Regions from separate parts of the Homo sapiens genome. Here all the other regions are linked to region 4. The links are contacts of gene promoters, found by promoter capture Hi-C in blood cells and fetal thymus (Javierre and others, 2016). All regions are on one chromosome and are shown on one strand. Each heading gives the region's core, a stretch centred on a gene start or on the middle of the fragment in contact. The rest is flanking DNA. Distances are from core to core; before and after follow the strand shown.

Region 1 (2,700 bases), core at 163-2,662, 4.0 Mb before region 4:
TTTGTGGTCCCCTTGTCTATTCCTTTGTGATCGCTGTTTCAAAGAGAGTAAGTTAGAAGTTAAAATCCTGAGAATGGTATTACACGGTGCCACAGGTAGATTGATGCTTAATTTTTTCCTCTTCCCTAAATCTGCCAGATATCTGGTGTGGCAATTTGGAATATGGCGTGAGAACTGAGTTCAAATGCTAGCTTCCTCACGAAATTAGAATAATTTAATCTGAATTTCTTCAATCTTGAAATGGGAATAATAGTACTCTGAATGTATTTCTTTTTCTCTTTCAAAATTTATGAATTTGGACAAATATCTCCAATTCTGGTGCACCTTGTAGAGTAATTAGGAACCCAAACCCTACCAAAATAAAACAAAAACCACACACACACAACAAACCCTCCCTTCCTCTCATGCAGGGGCCTTTCACAGTTCCCTTGGACTACTCTCCTTTGTTTAGGCAAGGTACCCGGGTGGCTCATGCCTGTAATCCCAGCACATTGGGAGGCTGAGGCGGGCGGATCACGAGGTCAAGAGATCAAGACCATCCTGGCCAACATGGTGAAACCCTGTCTCTACTAAAAATACAAAAATTAGCTGGGTGTGGTGGCGCGCACCTTTAGTCAGTCCCAGCTACTCAGGAGGCTGAGGCAGGAGAATGGAGTGAACCCGGGAGGCGGAGGTTGCAGTGAGCTGAGATCGCGCCACTGCAGTTCAGCCTGGCAACAGAAAGAGACTCCGTCTCAAAAAATAAAAAATAAAAAGAAAAAAAAAGAAACCTAACTTTGCTGGACTTAGTTTTGCCATTTCTTGAACTACTTATAAATGGATTCATACAATATATACTTTTTTGTTTCTGGCTGCATTCCTTCCATAATATTTTTCAGATTCACGTTCCATCTATGTGGCTGCATATATCAGTAGTCCATTCCTTTTTCTTGCTAAGTTTTCCATTGTATGAATATACCACAATTCATTTATCTGTTCTCCTATTGCTGGATGTTTTTCTTGTTTCTGGAGTTTGCTTATTATGAATACAGCTGTCATAACACTGTTGTATAAATCTTTTTTTGGACATACATTTTCATTTCTTTTTAGGTAAGTACCTAAGAGTGAAATTTCTGGGTCATAGGATAGATGTGCATGTTACTTTGTGAGAAATTGCCAAACAGTTCTCCAAAGTGATTGTACCAGTTTGCACGTTCAACCAGAAAAAAAATGAGTTTCAACTACTTTACATTTTGACTTACATTTAGTATTATCAGTCCTTTTAGTTTGAACCATTCTAGTGTGTGTAAAATAGTATCTTGTGGTTTTAATTTTCATTTTACCGATGACTAATAATGTTGAGTGCCTTTTCACTTGCTTTTTAGCAATTCATATATGTTCTTTTTAAAAGTATCTTCTAATTTTTTTTGCCCATAATCAGATTATTTGTCTTGTTTAATTGAGAGTTCTTTATACTGTCTCAAAACAAGAGCTTTCTCACATAAATGCCTTGTGAATATATGACTATTCTTATCTGTGACTTAACTTTTCATTTTCTTTTCTTTTTTTTTTTTTTTTTTTTTTTTTAGACAGCGTCTTGCTCTACTGCCCAGGCTACAGTGCAGTGGTGTGATCATGGCTCACTGCAGCCTCAACCTCCTGGGCTCAAGCAATCCTCCCACCTCAGCCTCTGGAGTAGCTGGGATACAAGTTGCATGCCACCATGCCCAGCTAATTTTTGTATTTTTTTGTAGAGATAGGGTTTCACCATATTGCCCATGCTGGTCTTGAACTCCTGGACTCAAGCGATCCACCCACTTTGGACTCCCAAAGTGCTGGGATTACAGGTATGAGCCACCATGCCCTGCCTCGTTTTTTTGATAGTGTCCTTTGATGAACAGAAATTTTAATTTTAATGAAGTCCACTCTATCGTTTTTTTATTCCTTAAGGGTTAGTTTTTTTGGTGTCTTAAATCTTTGCCTACCTTAAGGCTGTGAAGATGTTTTGGCAGGTTTATTTTCTAGGAGTTATATCGTTTTAGCTTTCACATTTTGATCTGTGATCATGTTGAATTCATTTTTGTGTTTGCAGTGAAGTAGGGATCAAAGTTCTTTTTTTGGTATAAGGATATTCATTTATTCTATCACCATCAGTTGAAAAGGCCATCATTTCTCCCATTAAAATAACTCAGTCTTCATGAGAAATCAGTTGACTATACTGTTTGCATAGTGTGTCCTTTCTACCTTTTTAACCTTTCTTATGTCTTTCTGTATAAAGCAAAAAGCTGTAAAAATACTGTATTTCCCTAAAAATAGCATAAAACTGTATGCTAGTTTTAAAAATATATAGTTGGGTGATTTTAAATCTGTTCTGATGATCTGTGTGTTCTAATTAAAATGTTTAGTATATTTTATAGTTAATTTAAATATTGGTGTTCTTGTTCCTAACTGCTATGGTTTGGATGTGTTTTGTCCCTATGTTTTCTCACTTTGATCCCCAATGTGGCAGTGTTGAGACATAGGGCCTAGTGGGAGGTGCGTGGTTCCTGAGGGCAGATTCTTCTTGAATAGATTAATGCCCTCCCATGGAGATGGTTGGGTGAGTTCTCTCTCAGGAATGGATTAATTCCTGCCATAGTGGGTTGTGAAAAAGAGTCTGGCTTCCAAAGTTTACATTCACAGATGTAAAGATCTATTTATATTAAGATATCTTAGCATTTT
Region 2 (2,700 bases), core at 78-2,577, 4.8 Mb before region 4:
GAACAGTAAACTAGCTCCGCAAGTTAAATAAACTTTTGACCCTTTCTATAACCATTCTCAATAATCTTTAGGATTTTCATTACATTTCTATTTTTTCCTACTCGGCAAACTTGTAAGACTGTAACTGTTAATCCCATTCTTCCTTCCAGATTGCAAGACAAAAGCAGCATACACACTCTGCCTGATGCGAAGTCAATTTCATTCGAACCCTTTAGGATTTAAAAATAAAAACTGTTTTGCCAGCACAAGATGTCACCGCTCTCTTACCATATCATCCCCTTTCCCTCTTCGTAATATATTCATCAAGTTCACTGAGTATGTATTCATCAACAGTCCCTTTACGTGGGACCGTGAGCCCCTACCTTTTTCAATTTGATGAGTGAGAAGATAAGTAACCTTGAAGCCAGATTTTCAGAGAGAGAGAGAGAGACTGCAGGACCAGCTGCGGAGCTGGGCTGCGCGATGCCCCTGGCTCCTCCCTGGGGCTGGAGGAGCGGGAGACCTTCGGCGAGGCCTGTCACTCACCTGACTGGGTGCCTGAATTGGTAAAGCTTTCCTGAGGCTGCGGTCATTCCAGGGCCATCGGGCATCTGGAGAGGAAAGGAAGTGAATCCAGTTATCACCCACCTCCTTCTAGAAAGTGGAAACGTGCACGACCCAGTGTTCCTCGTGCCCGCTGGGAATGTAACCCCAGGGCTCTCAGCAGCCTCGCTCCCGGCTGGGTGCCTGTGGCCCATCGCTCCAGAGGACACATCCGCCGCGTCGGCACCTTTATGGCCACCGGCAGGCGGGATGTTAAGCGAGAGGCAGGACCCGGTGTCTCGCATGTCTCTCTCAGGCCCTGCGTCCCGAGAGCCCTGGTCGATCTTCTGCACCCGTGGGAGGCGCGGCCTGAGACGCGTGGCTCACTCACCGCCTCCGCGGCGTGGTTCGGCGTCTCCTCTTCTTTCTTGCCTCCGGCGTCCACCCAGGGTCTCCAGAAGCCTGCGTATCTGCGGGATAGGGGAGCACAAGGCGCGCAGAGGAGACGTGAGCCCAGACCCGGGAGAATCCACCGAAGCCGAGCGCTGGCACCGGGCAGTGGGGGATGGAGAGTTGGAGGGGAGGAGCTGGGGAGGCGCAGGAGGGAGAGACGGGGGAAGCTGGGAGGCGCAGAGCAGCGCGGGGAAGCCTACCCGGAGTCCGCGCCCGCGCGCCGCGTAGGGCCGTCGGTGGCCGCGCACGCCGCAGCTCCACTCTCTGTACCCTCTGCGCCTCCCGCGTTCTCCATGACGCCGCAGAGCTGGGCGGAAGGCCGCTGCCAGCTCGCGGGCAATCTTGACCAGTTCCAGTAGGTCCGAGACCCGAGCTTTATATAGCCCTCGCGGCCTGCTGCACATTGAGAGGTTCGCTGCCTCTCCGCCCCTCTCCCTGCTAGCCGCATAAACAAAAAGGCTGCGCGTGAAGGCGCACCGGGCTGAGCCCCGGGTGTGAACGCGTGCAACTCCCAAATGGCCCGGGACAGGGTTTTGTCGAGCGAATGTTAATCGCCCTTCGACACATGGCTGCGGAGAAAAACAACATTCGCCCGAGCAGCCAATTTCCGTGTGAAGAGGCCAGGAGGAGATGGAATTAAGCGAGTCTACACGTTTTGTGGATTTCTGCAAAAAGGCCAAGTGACTGGTTAATTGCTTGATTCGCTGGAGACTCAGGACTTGGCCTGTGGCAAATCAACTGGTTCTGCATCCCGTGTTCTAAAAGCTGGGATGCAGACTAGAATTCAAAGGAATAAACTTAATTCCTCTTCATGGAACAATTTTCTAAAAAATGGGGAGAATGCATGGACTCCTTAAGAGAGGAATGTCGGTTTTTTAAAAAAGTATTGATAAACTAGGTTCATACTCCAGCCTATTATTATTTGAAGATAATAGAAAATTATTGGCAACAAGAGGTAAATTGTAAAAGATTCGCTGTTCTGGCTAAGAGAGCCAGAGACTGGAGTCATGTGATTTGGGCATAGAGCTCTAAATTATCTTCTCGTGTCTTTTGTGATTTTCCCCAACATTTTATCAGTGTCCTCCTACAATAACTTTTGAGTTCGTCTATACACCTCTGTCACTACTTGGTATTTTGTCACTCAATGGTAATTACAAAATTCTTTTTTGAGGGCAGTGTTGTGGAATGATAATGAAATCTTGAAAAGTTATGATATGAGACAAGTTAATCAAACGTCTGCACCCCTGTTTCTCTGATTTGAGTTACCCCTCACTTATCTACCACTAAACTTTGTAAAAAGTGTTATGCATCGAGGAAAAGATGATATATAAATGTTATAATTTTTTTCAAAATGTTTTAAATAATAAAACTGGACTTTCTCTTAAAAGTTTAGACAAAAATCTTGATTGTAAACTATAGTTGTCTCTGCTATTCATTCAGCTACTGCATAGGAAAATAATTTAATTATTAATAGTAGCTAAGAGCCTATAATGATCTACCTGCCAGGAAGGTGAGATTTGGGTTGCTTCTGATAAGAAAATCAGTAAGGATAGATACCTAATGCATGTCTGCATCCCCTACAGTTATTGTTAGGCTAAATAAAATAAAGCTTATAAAATGCGTTTTGCAGTGCCTGGCATATAGTAAGCCTTCAACAGATTTTAAGCTACGTAAAAAAATATAAGGCCTTAACAGATGTTAACCTTTCTGATAAAATGGCTTATT
Region 3 (2,700 bases), core at 73-2,572, 4.8 Mb before region 4:
TATCTCAGCTATTAGAGAAACAGAACAGAACTAGAAAATAACTAGGGTTGAAGTTTCTGTGATCATCTTCAGGCTATGAACTTAGCGTTAATCCTAAAACACAGTGATCTCAGAAGGGAAACCAAAAGATAATGTGAAAGCAGGTCCTGGGGACTTGGTCTGAGCCCCTGCATCAATCCTCACCTCTAACTTTTTAGTAACTTTTTGCTTCTGCTTAAGCCAAAATAGTTTTCTATCATTTACATCTATGACTCCCCACTAATAGATTTTATCAGCTTCAGTTTTCTTATTTGGTAAATGCGGATTCTCTAAGCTTCAGTACCCTCAATCTGTGAAATGGAGGACCTACCTCATTGGTCTGTTGTGAAAATTAACACTTAGCACATAGCATATAACTGACACATCAATAACCCTGCTAGGGTACTTAAAAAAAGGAAGCACTTTCTAAAAAGAATATTTAACTATATATGAGGTTTTAATTTAAACCTGAGAATTATGTGACTGGGTAATACATCTGAATGTGCAAAAAGATAATGGCAACAGCCAAACCATAAATAGGAGTAAAAATTGCCACTATCAAGTAATTCAGGCAATAACCAGGAATATAATGAGAGTTACTGCAGACTATCTCTAGAAATATAAGGATGCAAATGCTGAAGAAAAAAAATCTTAAACTAGCTATATCACTAATAAAAGTAACAAAATAGAAAACAACAAGTAATGAAACAACAAACAATGTAACAGAAAAGAAGCAACAGAGAAAATACAAACCAAAATTAGTTTATTCAAAATGTTAATAAAATTGATAAACTTCTAGTAAGACTGATCAAGAAAAAAAAGAGAGAAAAAATTAGCAACACCAGGAATGAAAAAGGATATATAGGGTATATCATAGAACTTAAAGACATTAAAGAAATAAAAAGGGAATATTACAAATAACTATATGCCAATATATTAAATGAGATAAAATTAATGAATTCATTGAAAAACACAACTAAAACTGACACAAAAGTAAAGAGAAAATTTAAATAGCCCTATATCCTTTTTTAAAATTAAATTTGTAATAAAAAAGAAAAACTTTCCCACAAAGAAAATTTCAGAATGTTGGCTGCAATTTCTAAACCACTGTGTCAACCAAACAGAACACCTGAGGGTTAGATAAGGCCCTCAGATCAGCAGTTTTTCCTCTCCACTAAATTTTTAATGAATGGGAGAGAAGTACAGAGAGAGAAAAAGTGAAAAAAAGGAGGAGAAGGAAAAGAGTGAATGACAATTTAGGAGATAAAGACAGGGTAAAAGTAAGAGAAAGCAAATAATCTTAGATGTTAGTAAGACAGGAATTAATACAATCGACAAAGACTAGATTATTTGCATAATCATGTGAAATAAGGCAACTTGAAAAATCTATGGGTTAGGTTAGAATTCAATGAACAGGCCAGGTGTGGTGGCTCACACCTGTAATCCCAGCAGTCTGGGAGGCCAAGGCTGTGGATCACCTGCGATCAGGAGTTCCAGACCAGCCTGGCCAACATGGTGAAACCCCCATCTCTACTAAAAATACAAAAAAATTAGCCGGGCATGGCTGCAGGCGCCTATAATCCCAGCTACTCAAGAGGCTGGGGCAGGAGACTCGCTTGAACCCGGGAGACGGAGGTTGCAGTGAGCCGAGATCGTGCCATTGCACTCCAGCCTGGGTGACAAGAGTGAAACTCCATCGCAAAAAAAAAAAAAAAAAAAAAAGCAAACAATGAAAGAAGGGACATGTACCACTAAAATAATGTTGATTTTCTTCCAGGCAGAACATTGTTGATTTGTATTCAAGGGAGAACACTGCCTTCTTTGACCTCAGCTAGGAACCTGCATGTTGGGCAACAAAGATTTTTTCACTGCTCTCTGCGTGTCTTTGAATGTCTAAAAGCACTGTGAGTACTGAGTTTGAGGTTACAAATACAGTGGGTTTTAATCTAACCTAAACAAGAAAATGGAAGAAGAGAGTTGTTCAAAAATCTGCCAAGAAAGTAATGATGATAGTACACAAAGTAAACTACAGAATGGTTGAACTAACTGTAATAATAATATATTATTATTTAGATAGTATATTACTGGGTTAATATGTTCTATTACAAATTAAAACATTAGTTCCAAATTTGAAAAACTGCTCCTAAAAGAGCAGGTAGAAAAATTTCCCTGCTATGGACAAATAACACTGCAGTTTCTGAAAACAGAAATGAACCAAGGAGCTAAGGAAACCTAGGAAAAAAAAAAAAACGGTTAGATAAATCAGCTCTATTTTTGGTGGGTCTGAATTTAACCCAAAAAGTACAAAGCTTTCGTTATCATTACTGAAGTATAAATAAAAGATAATCTAAAGAAATATAGTTGGTTATCCTTGTTCATAGCAATCATTTCCATAAAATTGCTGCAAACACTGAATTAGTAAATACTGACCCATTGCTCCTTGGAAAAAACACAAAGTTGGGTTCCTGTATGCTGCAAACACTGAATTAGCGAATACTGACCCATTGCTACTAGTAAAAAATACAAAGTTGGGTTCCTATGAGCCTATAATGACAACATGTTTGTCAACCAATCAATACATAAACTTGTTTAATGTGTGTTGCTGTTTAAAGACACCTTCTTTAATATATATTGTTGATTCATGAACATTGAACTCACAGACAACAGCTGTAACTCACTATA
Region 4 (2,700 bases), core at 122-2,621:
ACAAATGGCTTTTTCTATTGTTTCCATTAATTTCACCCATATTCGTTTTTTTAAAAACAAGGCCCTTATCCTCATCAGCAAAACACAGATGTATGATTTAGCATATAAAATCGGTAATTACATACTAATTTACGAAAGATTTTTTTTTCTCCTTTTCGTCAGTTTTCAAGAAGTCTTCCCGTGATTAACTGTAAACAGGAATGGTTTACATCTCAAATTAGAAGCCATTAATTAGCATGACGAAGTCAACTGCAAGATACACAGATTATTTAAATTATTTAATCACTATTCACCTTGGCTAAACTGTAGTATACTCTTTCAATATCCTTAGGCAGGTTATCGATCTGTCACTAAATTACCTCCAGATCAGTTAGACATGAATATTAGCGTCCTTTCCTTTCCCTCAGGTTTACATTCTCCCTTCTCGTAAACACTTAAAAAAGCTTTAAGGTTCTTTAATTCCAAATACCTAATTAGCCATCACTAGCCTTTTTGTAATAAGGAAAAAGAGTATCTGAAGTACAAATCAAGAGTTCGCTTTGCCCGTTTAACAATAAAAAACATTTAAAAAACGTACGCCAAAGGCAATGGCAGTAATAAAAGAAATATGCAGAGGTGGCTTCAGCAAATAACGGGTTTGCAAAACGCAAGTGCTTAACAAAAAGCAGCCCAAACCTCTATTGCAATATACAGCACTCCAATAAATTACACAACACTTGCATAGGCTGCAGAAATAACGCAGGACAAGACTTACACAGATGCCAATCCGCAGCATTTATACACATGCACATGGCAAGAGACAGAAACCAAACACTATCATTCAACTCGGGAAGGGTAGCGCGATCCCGAGCTTGCCCAGCGTGAGAGTGCTCTCTGCGTGTGTGTCTGTGTACGCGCGTGAGTGAGACCCATCCTTGGGGCATTTCCCCTCTCTGGGCAGTTTTGCTTCATTTGTTTCATATTTCTGCTACATAGAAACTAACTTCCATCTCAGCTCCAGCCAGCGCCGCTGAATAGAGCCTGTGCTGCGGCTCCGTGTGCGTCAGATCCCTCCGCGGAACCGTCCCCGGCCCCCTCCCTGCCACTATCGGCCTCCACAGAGAAAGCGCCTTCCAGCCAACCGGCGGCTTGGGCTCCGACATCTTCTCCGACTGGAAATAAATAAATAAATCGCACGCCCTGCGGGGAGGAGCGGGTGGGGGTCTCACTGTGCCGCGTGCGGAGCGCTGGGGACGAGGGGTCGGAGGCACTCCTTTTTTAGCGCCGGGGGGCGGGGGCGCGGGCCAGAGCCGGGGCCGAGCCCTGGGCCGCGAAGGCGGCGGACTCCTTTCTGCGGCGGAGGGATCCGCGGCGGAGGCGGCCACGGCCGTAGTCGCTGCCTGAGAGTTGTTGTTTCCTCCTCCTCCTCCTCCGCCTCCGCCGCCGTTGCTTGAATGGTGGAGCCGAAGCTCGGCTCGTGAACACACACTGACAGCTATAGGGCAGGCGGCGGCACCGTCCCCGCTTCCCCTCGGCGGCGGGGTGTCCCGTCGGCGGCCCTGAAGTGACCCATAAACATGTCTTGTGAGAGGAAAGGCCTCTCGGAGCTGCGATCGGGTAAGTCGGGGGGCTGCCGGGGCCGCTGGCACCGGGCGATTCCGCCCGCGGTCCCCCGCCCCCCGCCGCCCGACCGCTCAGCCTGTGTGTCTCCCCGTCCCTCTCTCCCGCGCAGAGCTCTACTTCCTCATCGCCCGGTTCCTGGAAGATGGACCCTGTCAGCAGGCGGCTCAGGTACGGCGGCGCGCGGCGCGGGCCGGGCCGGCGCTCGCCGCTCGCGGGCGTGGGGGAGGGAGGCGGCGGCGGCGGGGCCGCGGCCCGGGGCGCGGGGCTCAGCTCTCCCCGCTTTGTTGTTGCAGGTGCTGATCCGCGAGGTGGCCGAGAAGGAGGTAAGGGCGGCGGCGGCCCGGCGCGTCCCGCCGCCGCGCGGCCGCCTCTGGGCCGCTGCGCCGCCGCTGCCGCCGCCGGCAGGGCGCGGGGCGCGGGGCTCGGGGTCCCCGCCGGGGCGCGGGGCGGGCGGGGGAGGGGAGCGGGCGGGTAGGGGCCGGGGGCCGGGCTCACGGGGTGTCCTCTCCCCGCAGCTGCTGCCCCGGCGCACCGACTGGACCGGGAAGGAGCATCCCAGGACCTACCAGAATCTGGTGAGACATTCACGTCGCAGAGCAAAGAAACTTTTCCCTGAGTCGAATAAAAATTGAATTTCCCGCAATTTTTTACAGAGACAAAAACTTGGCCCTAGAACGTGAAAGCTCCAAAGGCCATGGGGAGGGTTGGGAGGCCGGCGCGGGGTCTGCGGGGGCCAGTGGCCGGGGGTACTCGTACTTCGGGGCCGCAGGGGCTGCGGACAATTTATTTGTGATATTTTGTTAATGTGCTAGAAATAAAGATACGTCATGAGTGTTGTGCAGTGCAAGGCCGGAGGAGGAGGGGCCGGCGCGCGCGTCCGTGCGGGCGCGGGGGCGCGCGAGAGTCGGCGGCGGCGGGAGCGGCGCGAAGAGGGAGAGCGCGCTCGCTCGTTCGCTTGCTCGCTCTGCACGCGCGGCCGGCTCGGCTTTCTCCTGCCCTACACAATAGCTGGTGACTAACTGCTCCGAAGTGGCATTAGCATTTCACAAGCAGGCTATCCAGCCGCTGCGGTACCGTGGCAAGACATTATTTTTTCCC
Region 5 (2,700 bases), core at 155-2,654, 4.1 Mb before region 4:
AAATCAGGGTACCTACCTTGGGCTCTTCAATCTGGAGTGTAATTACAAATTCGATTTTTGGTGGCAGCGCCTCCCTTGTGCCTTCCAAATACCTCTTTATATTCGTCAGGGCATTTACATCTTCAAGTTTTACTTCTCCTTGGTTAGGAAACATAGAAAACAGCATTTCCATCTCCAGTAGCTGAAGCTGAAGGCTTTCTTTCACCGAAGCAGACATGTTGCCTCGCAATCAGCCTGCCTGGAAACCTCACAAGGCTCAGGGACGCTGGGTTTGTCAATGCCAGCCGGTATCCAGCGAAATTTCCCGAAGGTCCCTTTACGTGGAAGCAATTCTGCAGGAACGCTTTGCACCGAGAGCTAGGGGCACAAACCAGACACTTGCACTCTTCTTTATTTCCTGACTCCAAAATCTAGTATGCACAACATCCTCTAAAACACTCCGTAAAAACCCATATTCTGCGTACCCGGGCTCCGGGTTCCCGCCTCCCGCACCCCGCACTAGATAGGGGAATCTGCACTTTCAACAGGTGTTTGGAACTGTCCCGCTGCAGGTGGCAGGCAGACACCTGCAGACGCTCTGCAAGCCTGAATTCTGGGAAAGGCTGGGGCCCGGCTTCCAATCCCACCCGGGGCTCGGGCTTGGGCGGAGCCAGACGCTGCGGCGAGAGAGGCCGCAGTGCCAGCAGGATGGGCTCCGAGTTCCCCAGCGCCAGTCGCCACCCCTCGGTCCTGGACTCGCGGACCGCCCCCCCCCAACACCGCGGTGGCCTTTTCGCTTGGGCCGCATTCCAGGGCTCCGGACGTTTACGATTCACTGGCCTCTGCCCCGAGGGACCCAGGATAAGGGTAGGGGGTGTCTCAGAGGTCATTAAATAAAAGATGTTTACAGTGAGCTGGGGGAAGGGGGTACCCGGGGAGACGGCAGCCGGAGAAGGCTTCCCAGATTCAAAGGTTTGGGAGATGACCTCGACGTCGGAGAGGGGGATGCGGGCCGCCGGCGGCGCTCACTGTGGGCGAGGTCGCCCTGTCCGAGGCCCAGCGACGGGGCTGATTCCCCACCCCCGCCCCTAGCCAAGACCACTAGGAACCCCGGCTTCCCAGGAACGCAGGGCCTGCCGCCCCCAGAGGCCCGGATTTGGAGGCGGAGGCTGTGCCTCCGCGGCCGCAGTGCTCTGAGGGCCCGCGACCCTCGGCCCCAACCCCCGGGCCACCGCGGGGGCCTCACCCTTTCTGGTCACTCAATGGTAACAGCCCCAGACCCCGCTCGGAACCGCAGCCGCAGTTCCTCAGGCGCCAGCTGCGCGCGACCTGCGGCGAGGCGGGGGCGGGGCTGGCGGATAGTCCTCTGCCGTGATTGGCCAGGGGGCGTGGCGACGAGCCGGAAGCCACGCAGGGCCACGTCTGCGGTTCTGAGGACTGGGTTTGGGTGCAGACGTTGTTGCTTGGGCGCTTCTCCGCTGCGTGTAGGTGAAGGGGGCTTCCTGACCGAGGTAAGCCGGGCCCCGAGGCTCGGAGTTGAGAAGGGAGACTACCGGTCGGCAAGGGCTCGGTGGGAGCGGGACAGGTCAGATTCTCGGCCCGACGGAGGGGCTAGTGGTCTGGCGGGCGACTGACCGAGCGGCGGAGCGCGCGGGACACACCTACAGGCCCCTGCGCCCCGCGGGCGGGCTGGTCGGGACGGGCCGCGGGTCTCCTGCCGGGGCTCTGGTACGTGGACCTAGGCGGGGACCTCAGGGTGGAGTGCCGGGAATCACCCTTGTGCGGTGATTCGAGGGTAGGCGGGAGAGAGGCACCAAGGAGATTTGAAGATTGAATGGAGAGTAGGGGGATACTCTTAACTTTTTGCGTGGACGCTGGATTTGGCAAATATGCTTTCAATAAAGGCATTCGCAGAGGCATTGAAAGTAGTTGTAGGGCCTAAAACGCATGAAAGGATGAACTCATATTATCTGGACCTTTTTTTTTTTAATGGCTTTTTGGAGTTAACAGGACTGGTTTACACTCTTATGAATAATCATGACACATAACTGACTGCTCAGTTTTTACAAATATGTATTCATCCTTAGGAAAGAGATCTGATCACTGTCTTGAACTAAATTAGTTTACTGAATGCCAGCTTTTTCCAACTGGACAAAAGCAAGTATTTTTCACCATTTCTTGCAAGTTCTGTTCATTGAAGCAATGAAGGACAATAAAGAAAACAAAATTATGAGGCTAGCAGCTGGCGGACTGCTCCTCATCTCTGGGCTAATTGGGAATTAATTGACCCAGGAAATGTAGTATATGGACTACTGAAGGAAAACTACTGACTGAGGTTGGAAACCCCAAGTTCCACTTAATGGGAGTATCCCAGAGAAAACAGTATTAGTGGGCTAAGGGCCGATTTTTTGTTGTTGTTTGTTTTGAGACGGAGTCTCACCCTGTCGCCCAGCCTGGAGTGCAGTGGCGCGATCTCGGCTCACTGCGACCTCCACCCGCGGGTTCAAGCGATTCTCCTGCGTCAGCCTCCTGAGTAGCTGGGACTACAGGCGCGCACCACCACGCCAGGCTACTTTTTGTATTTTTAGTAGAGACAAGGGTCTCACCATGTTGGTCAGGCTGGTCTTGAATTCCTGACCTCGTGATCCGCCCGCCTTGGCCTCCCAAAATGCCGGGATTACAGGCCTGAGCCACCTCACCTGGCCTGTTTTTTTTTTTTTT

The links. The method cuts DNA at HindIII sites, captures the fragments that hold promoters and counts their contacts. A CHiCAGO score of 5 or more calls a contact.
Region 1: a contact is called between a fragment that was not itself captured here and the fragment with the promoter of PHIP in region 4, in 1 of 17 cell types (total B cells). The highest score is 5.3, in total B cells.
Region 2: a contact is called between the fragment with the promoter of RIPPLY2 here and the fragment with the promoter of PHIP in region 4, in 1 of 17 cell types (total CD8 T cells). The highest score is 5.4, in total CD8 T cells.
Region 3: a fragment that was not itself captured here is called in contact with the fragment with the promoter of PHIP in region 4 in 1 of 17 cell types (neutrophils); the score reaches 6.0 in neutrophils.
Region 5: the fragment with the promoter of PGM3 here is called in contact with the fragment with the promoter of PHIP in region 4 in 1 of 17 cell types (non-activated CD4 T cells); the score reaches 5.5 in non-activated CD4 T cells.

The regions. Positions count from the first base shown.
Region 1 is chr6:83,062,279-83,064,978 of GRCh38, reverse strand. The region is part of intron 1 of UBE3D (ubiquitin protein ligase E3D); the gene reads left to right. Among named protein-coding and RNA genes, the nearest start is that of UBE3D, 2.2 kb to the left of the region's middle. The HindIII fragment of the contact is 3,859 bases long and covers 1-2,700 here.
Region 2 is chr6:83,851,987-83,854,686 of GRCh38, reverse strand. It overlaps RIPPLY2 (ripply transcriptional repressor 2), which reads right to left and starts at 1,327. Exons shown (of 4, transcript NM_001009994.3): 1 at 1,176-1,327; 2 at 914-992; 3 at 526-590. The coding sequence starts at 1,270. RIPPLY2-CYB5R4 (RIPPLY2-CYB5R4 readthrough) reads right to left here and starts at 1,327. Exons shown (of 18, transcript NR_174604.1): 1 at 1,176-1,327; 2 at 914-992; 3 at 526-590. The HindIII fragment of the contact is 2,033 bases long and covers 554-2,586 here.
Region 3 is chr6:83,870,012-83,872,711 of GRCh38, reverse strand. The region is part of intron 4 of RIPPLY2-CYB5R4 (RIPPLY2-CYB5R4 readthrough); the gene reads right to left. All of the region lies in intron 2 of CYB5R4 (cytochrome b5 reductase 4), which reads right to left. Among named protein-coding and RNA genes, the nearest start is that of CYB5R4, 12 kb to the right of the region's middle. RefSeq lists a silencer at 1,728-2,022. The HindIII fragment of the contact is 2,014 bases long and covers 316-2,329 here.
Region 4 is chr6:79,076,925-79,079,624 of GRCh38, reverse strand. It overlaps PHIP (PHIP subunit of CUL4-Ring ligase complex), which reads left to right and starts at 1,371. Exons shown (of 40, transcript NM_017934.7): 1 at 1,371-1,596; 2 at 1,712-1,770; 3 at 1,896-1,925; 4 at 2,118-2,177. The coding sequence starts at 1,557. LOC124901346 (a long non-coding RNA gene) reads right to left here. Exons shown (of 2, transcript XR_007059652.1): 2 at 2,359-2,700. RefSeq lists an enhancer at 944-993 and silencers at 1,114-1,353, 1,484-1,653, 2,153-2,652. The HindIII fragment of the contact is 4,735 bases long and covers 446-2,700 here.
Region 5 is chr6:83,191,969-83,194,668 of GRCh38, reverse strand. It overlaps PGM3 (phosphoglucomutase 3), which reads left to right and starts at 1,404. Exons shown (of 13, transcript NM_015599.3): 1 at 1,404-1,490. It overlaps RWDD2A (RWD domain containing 2A), which reads right to left and starts at 1,312. Exons shown (of 3, transcript NM_033411.5): 1 at 1,226-1,312; 2 at 17-357. The coding sequence starts at 217. RefSeq lists silencers at 1,014-1,383, 1,684-1,753 and an enhancer at 942-1,441. The HindIII fragment of the contact is 15,181 bases long and covers 1-2,700 here.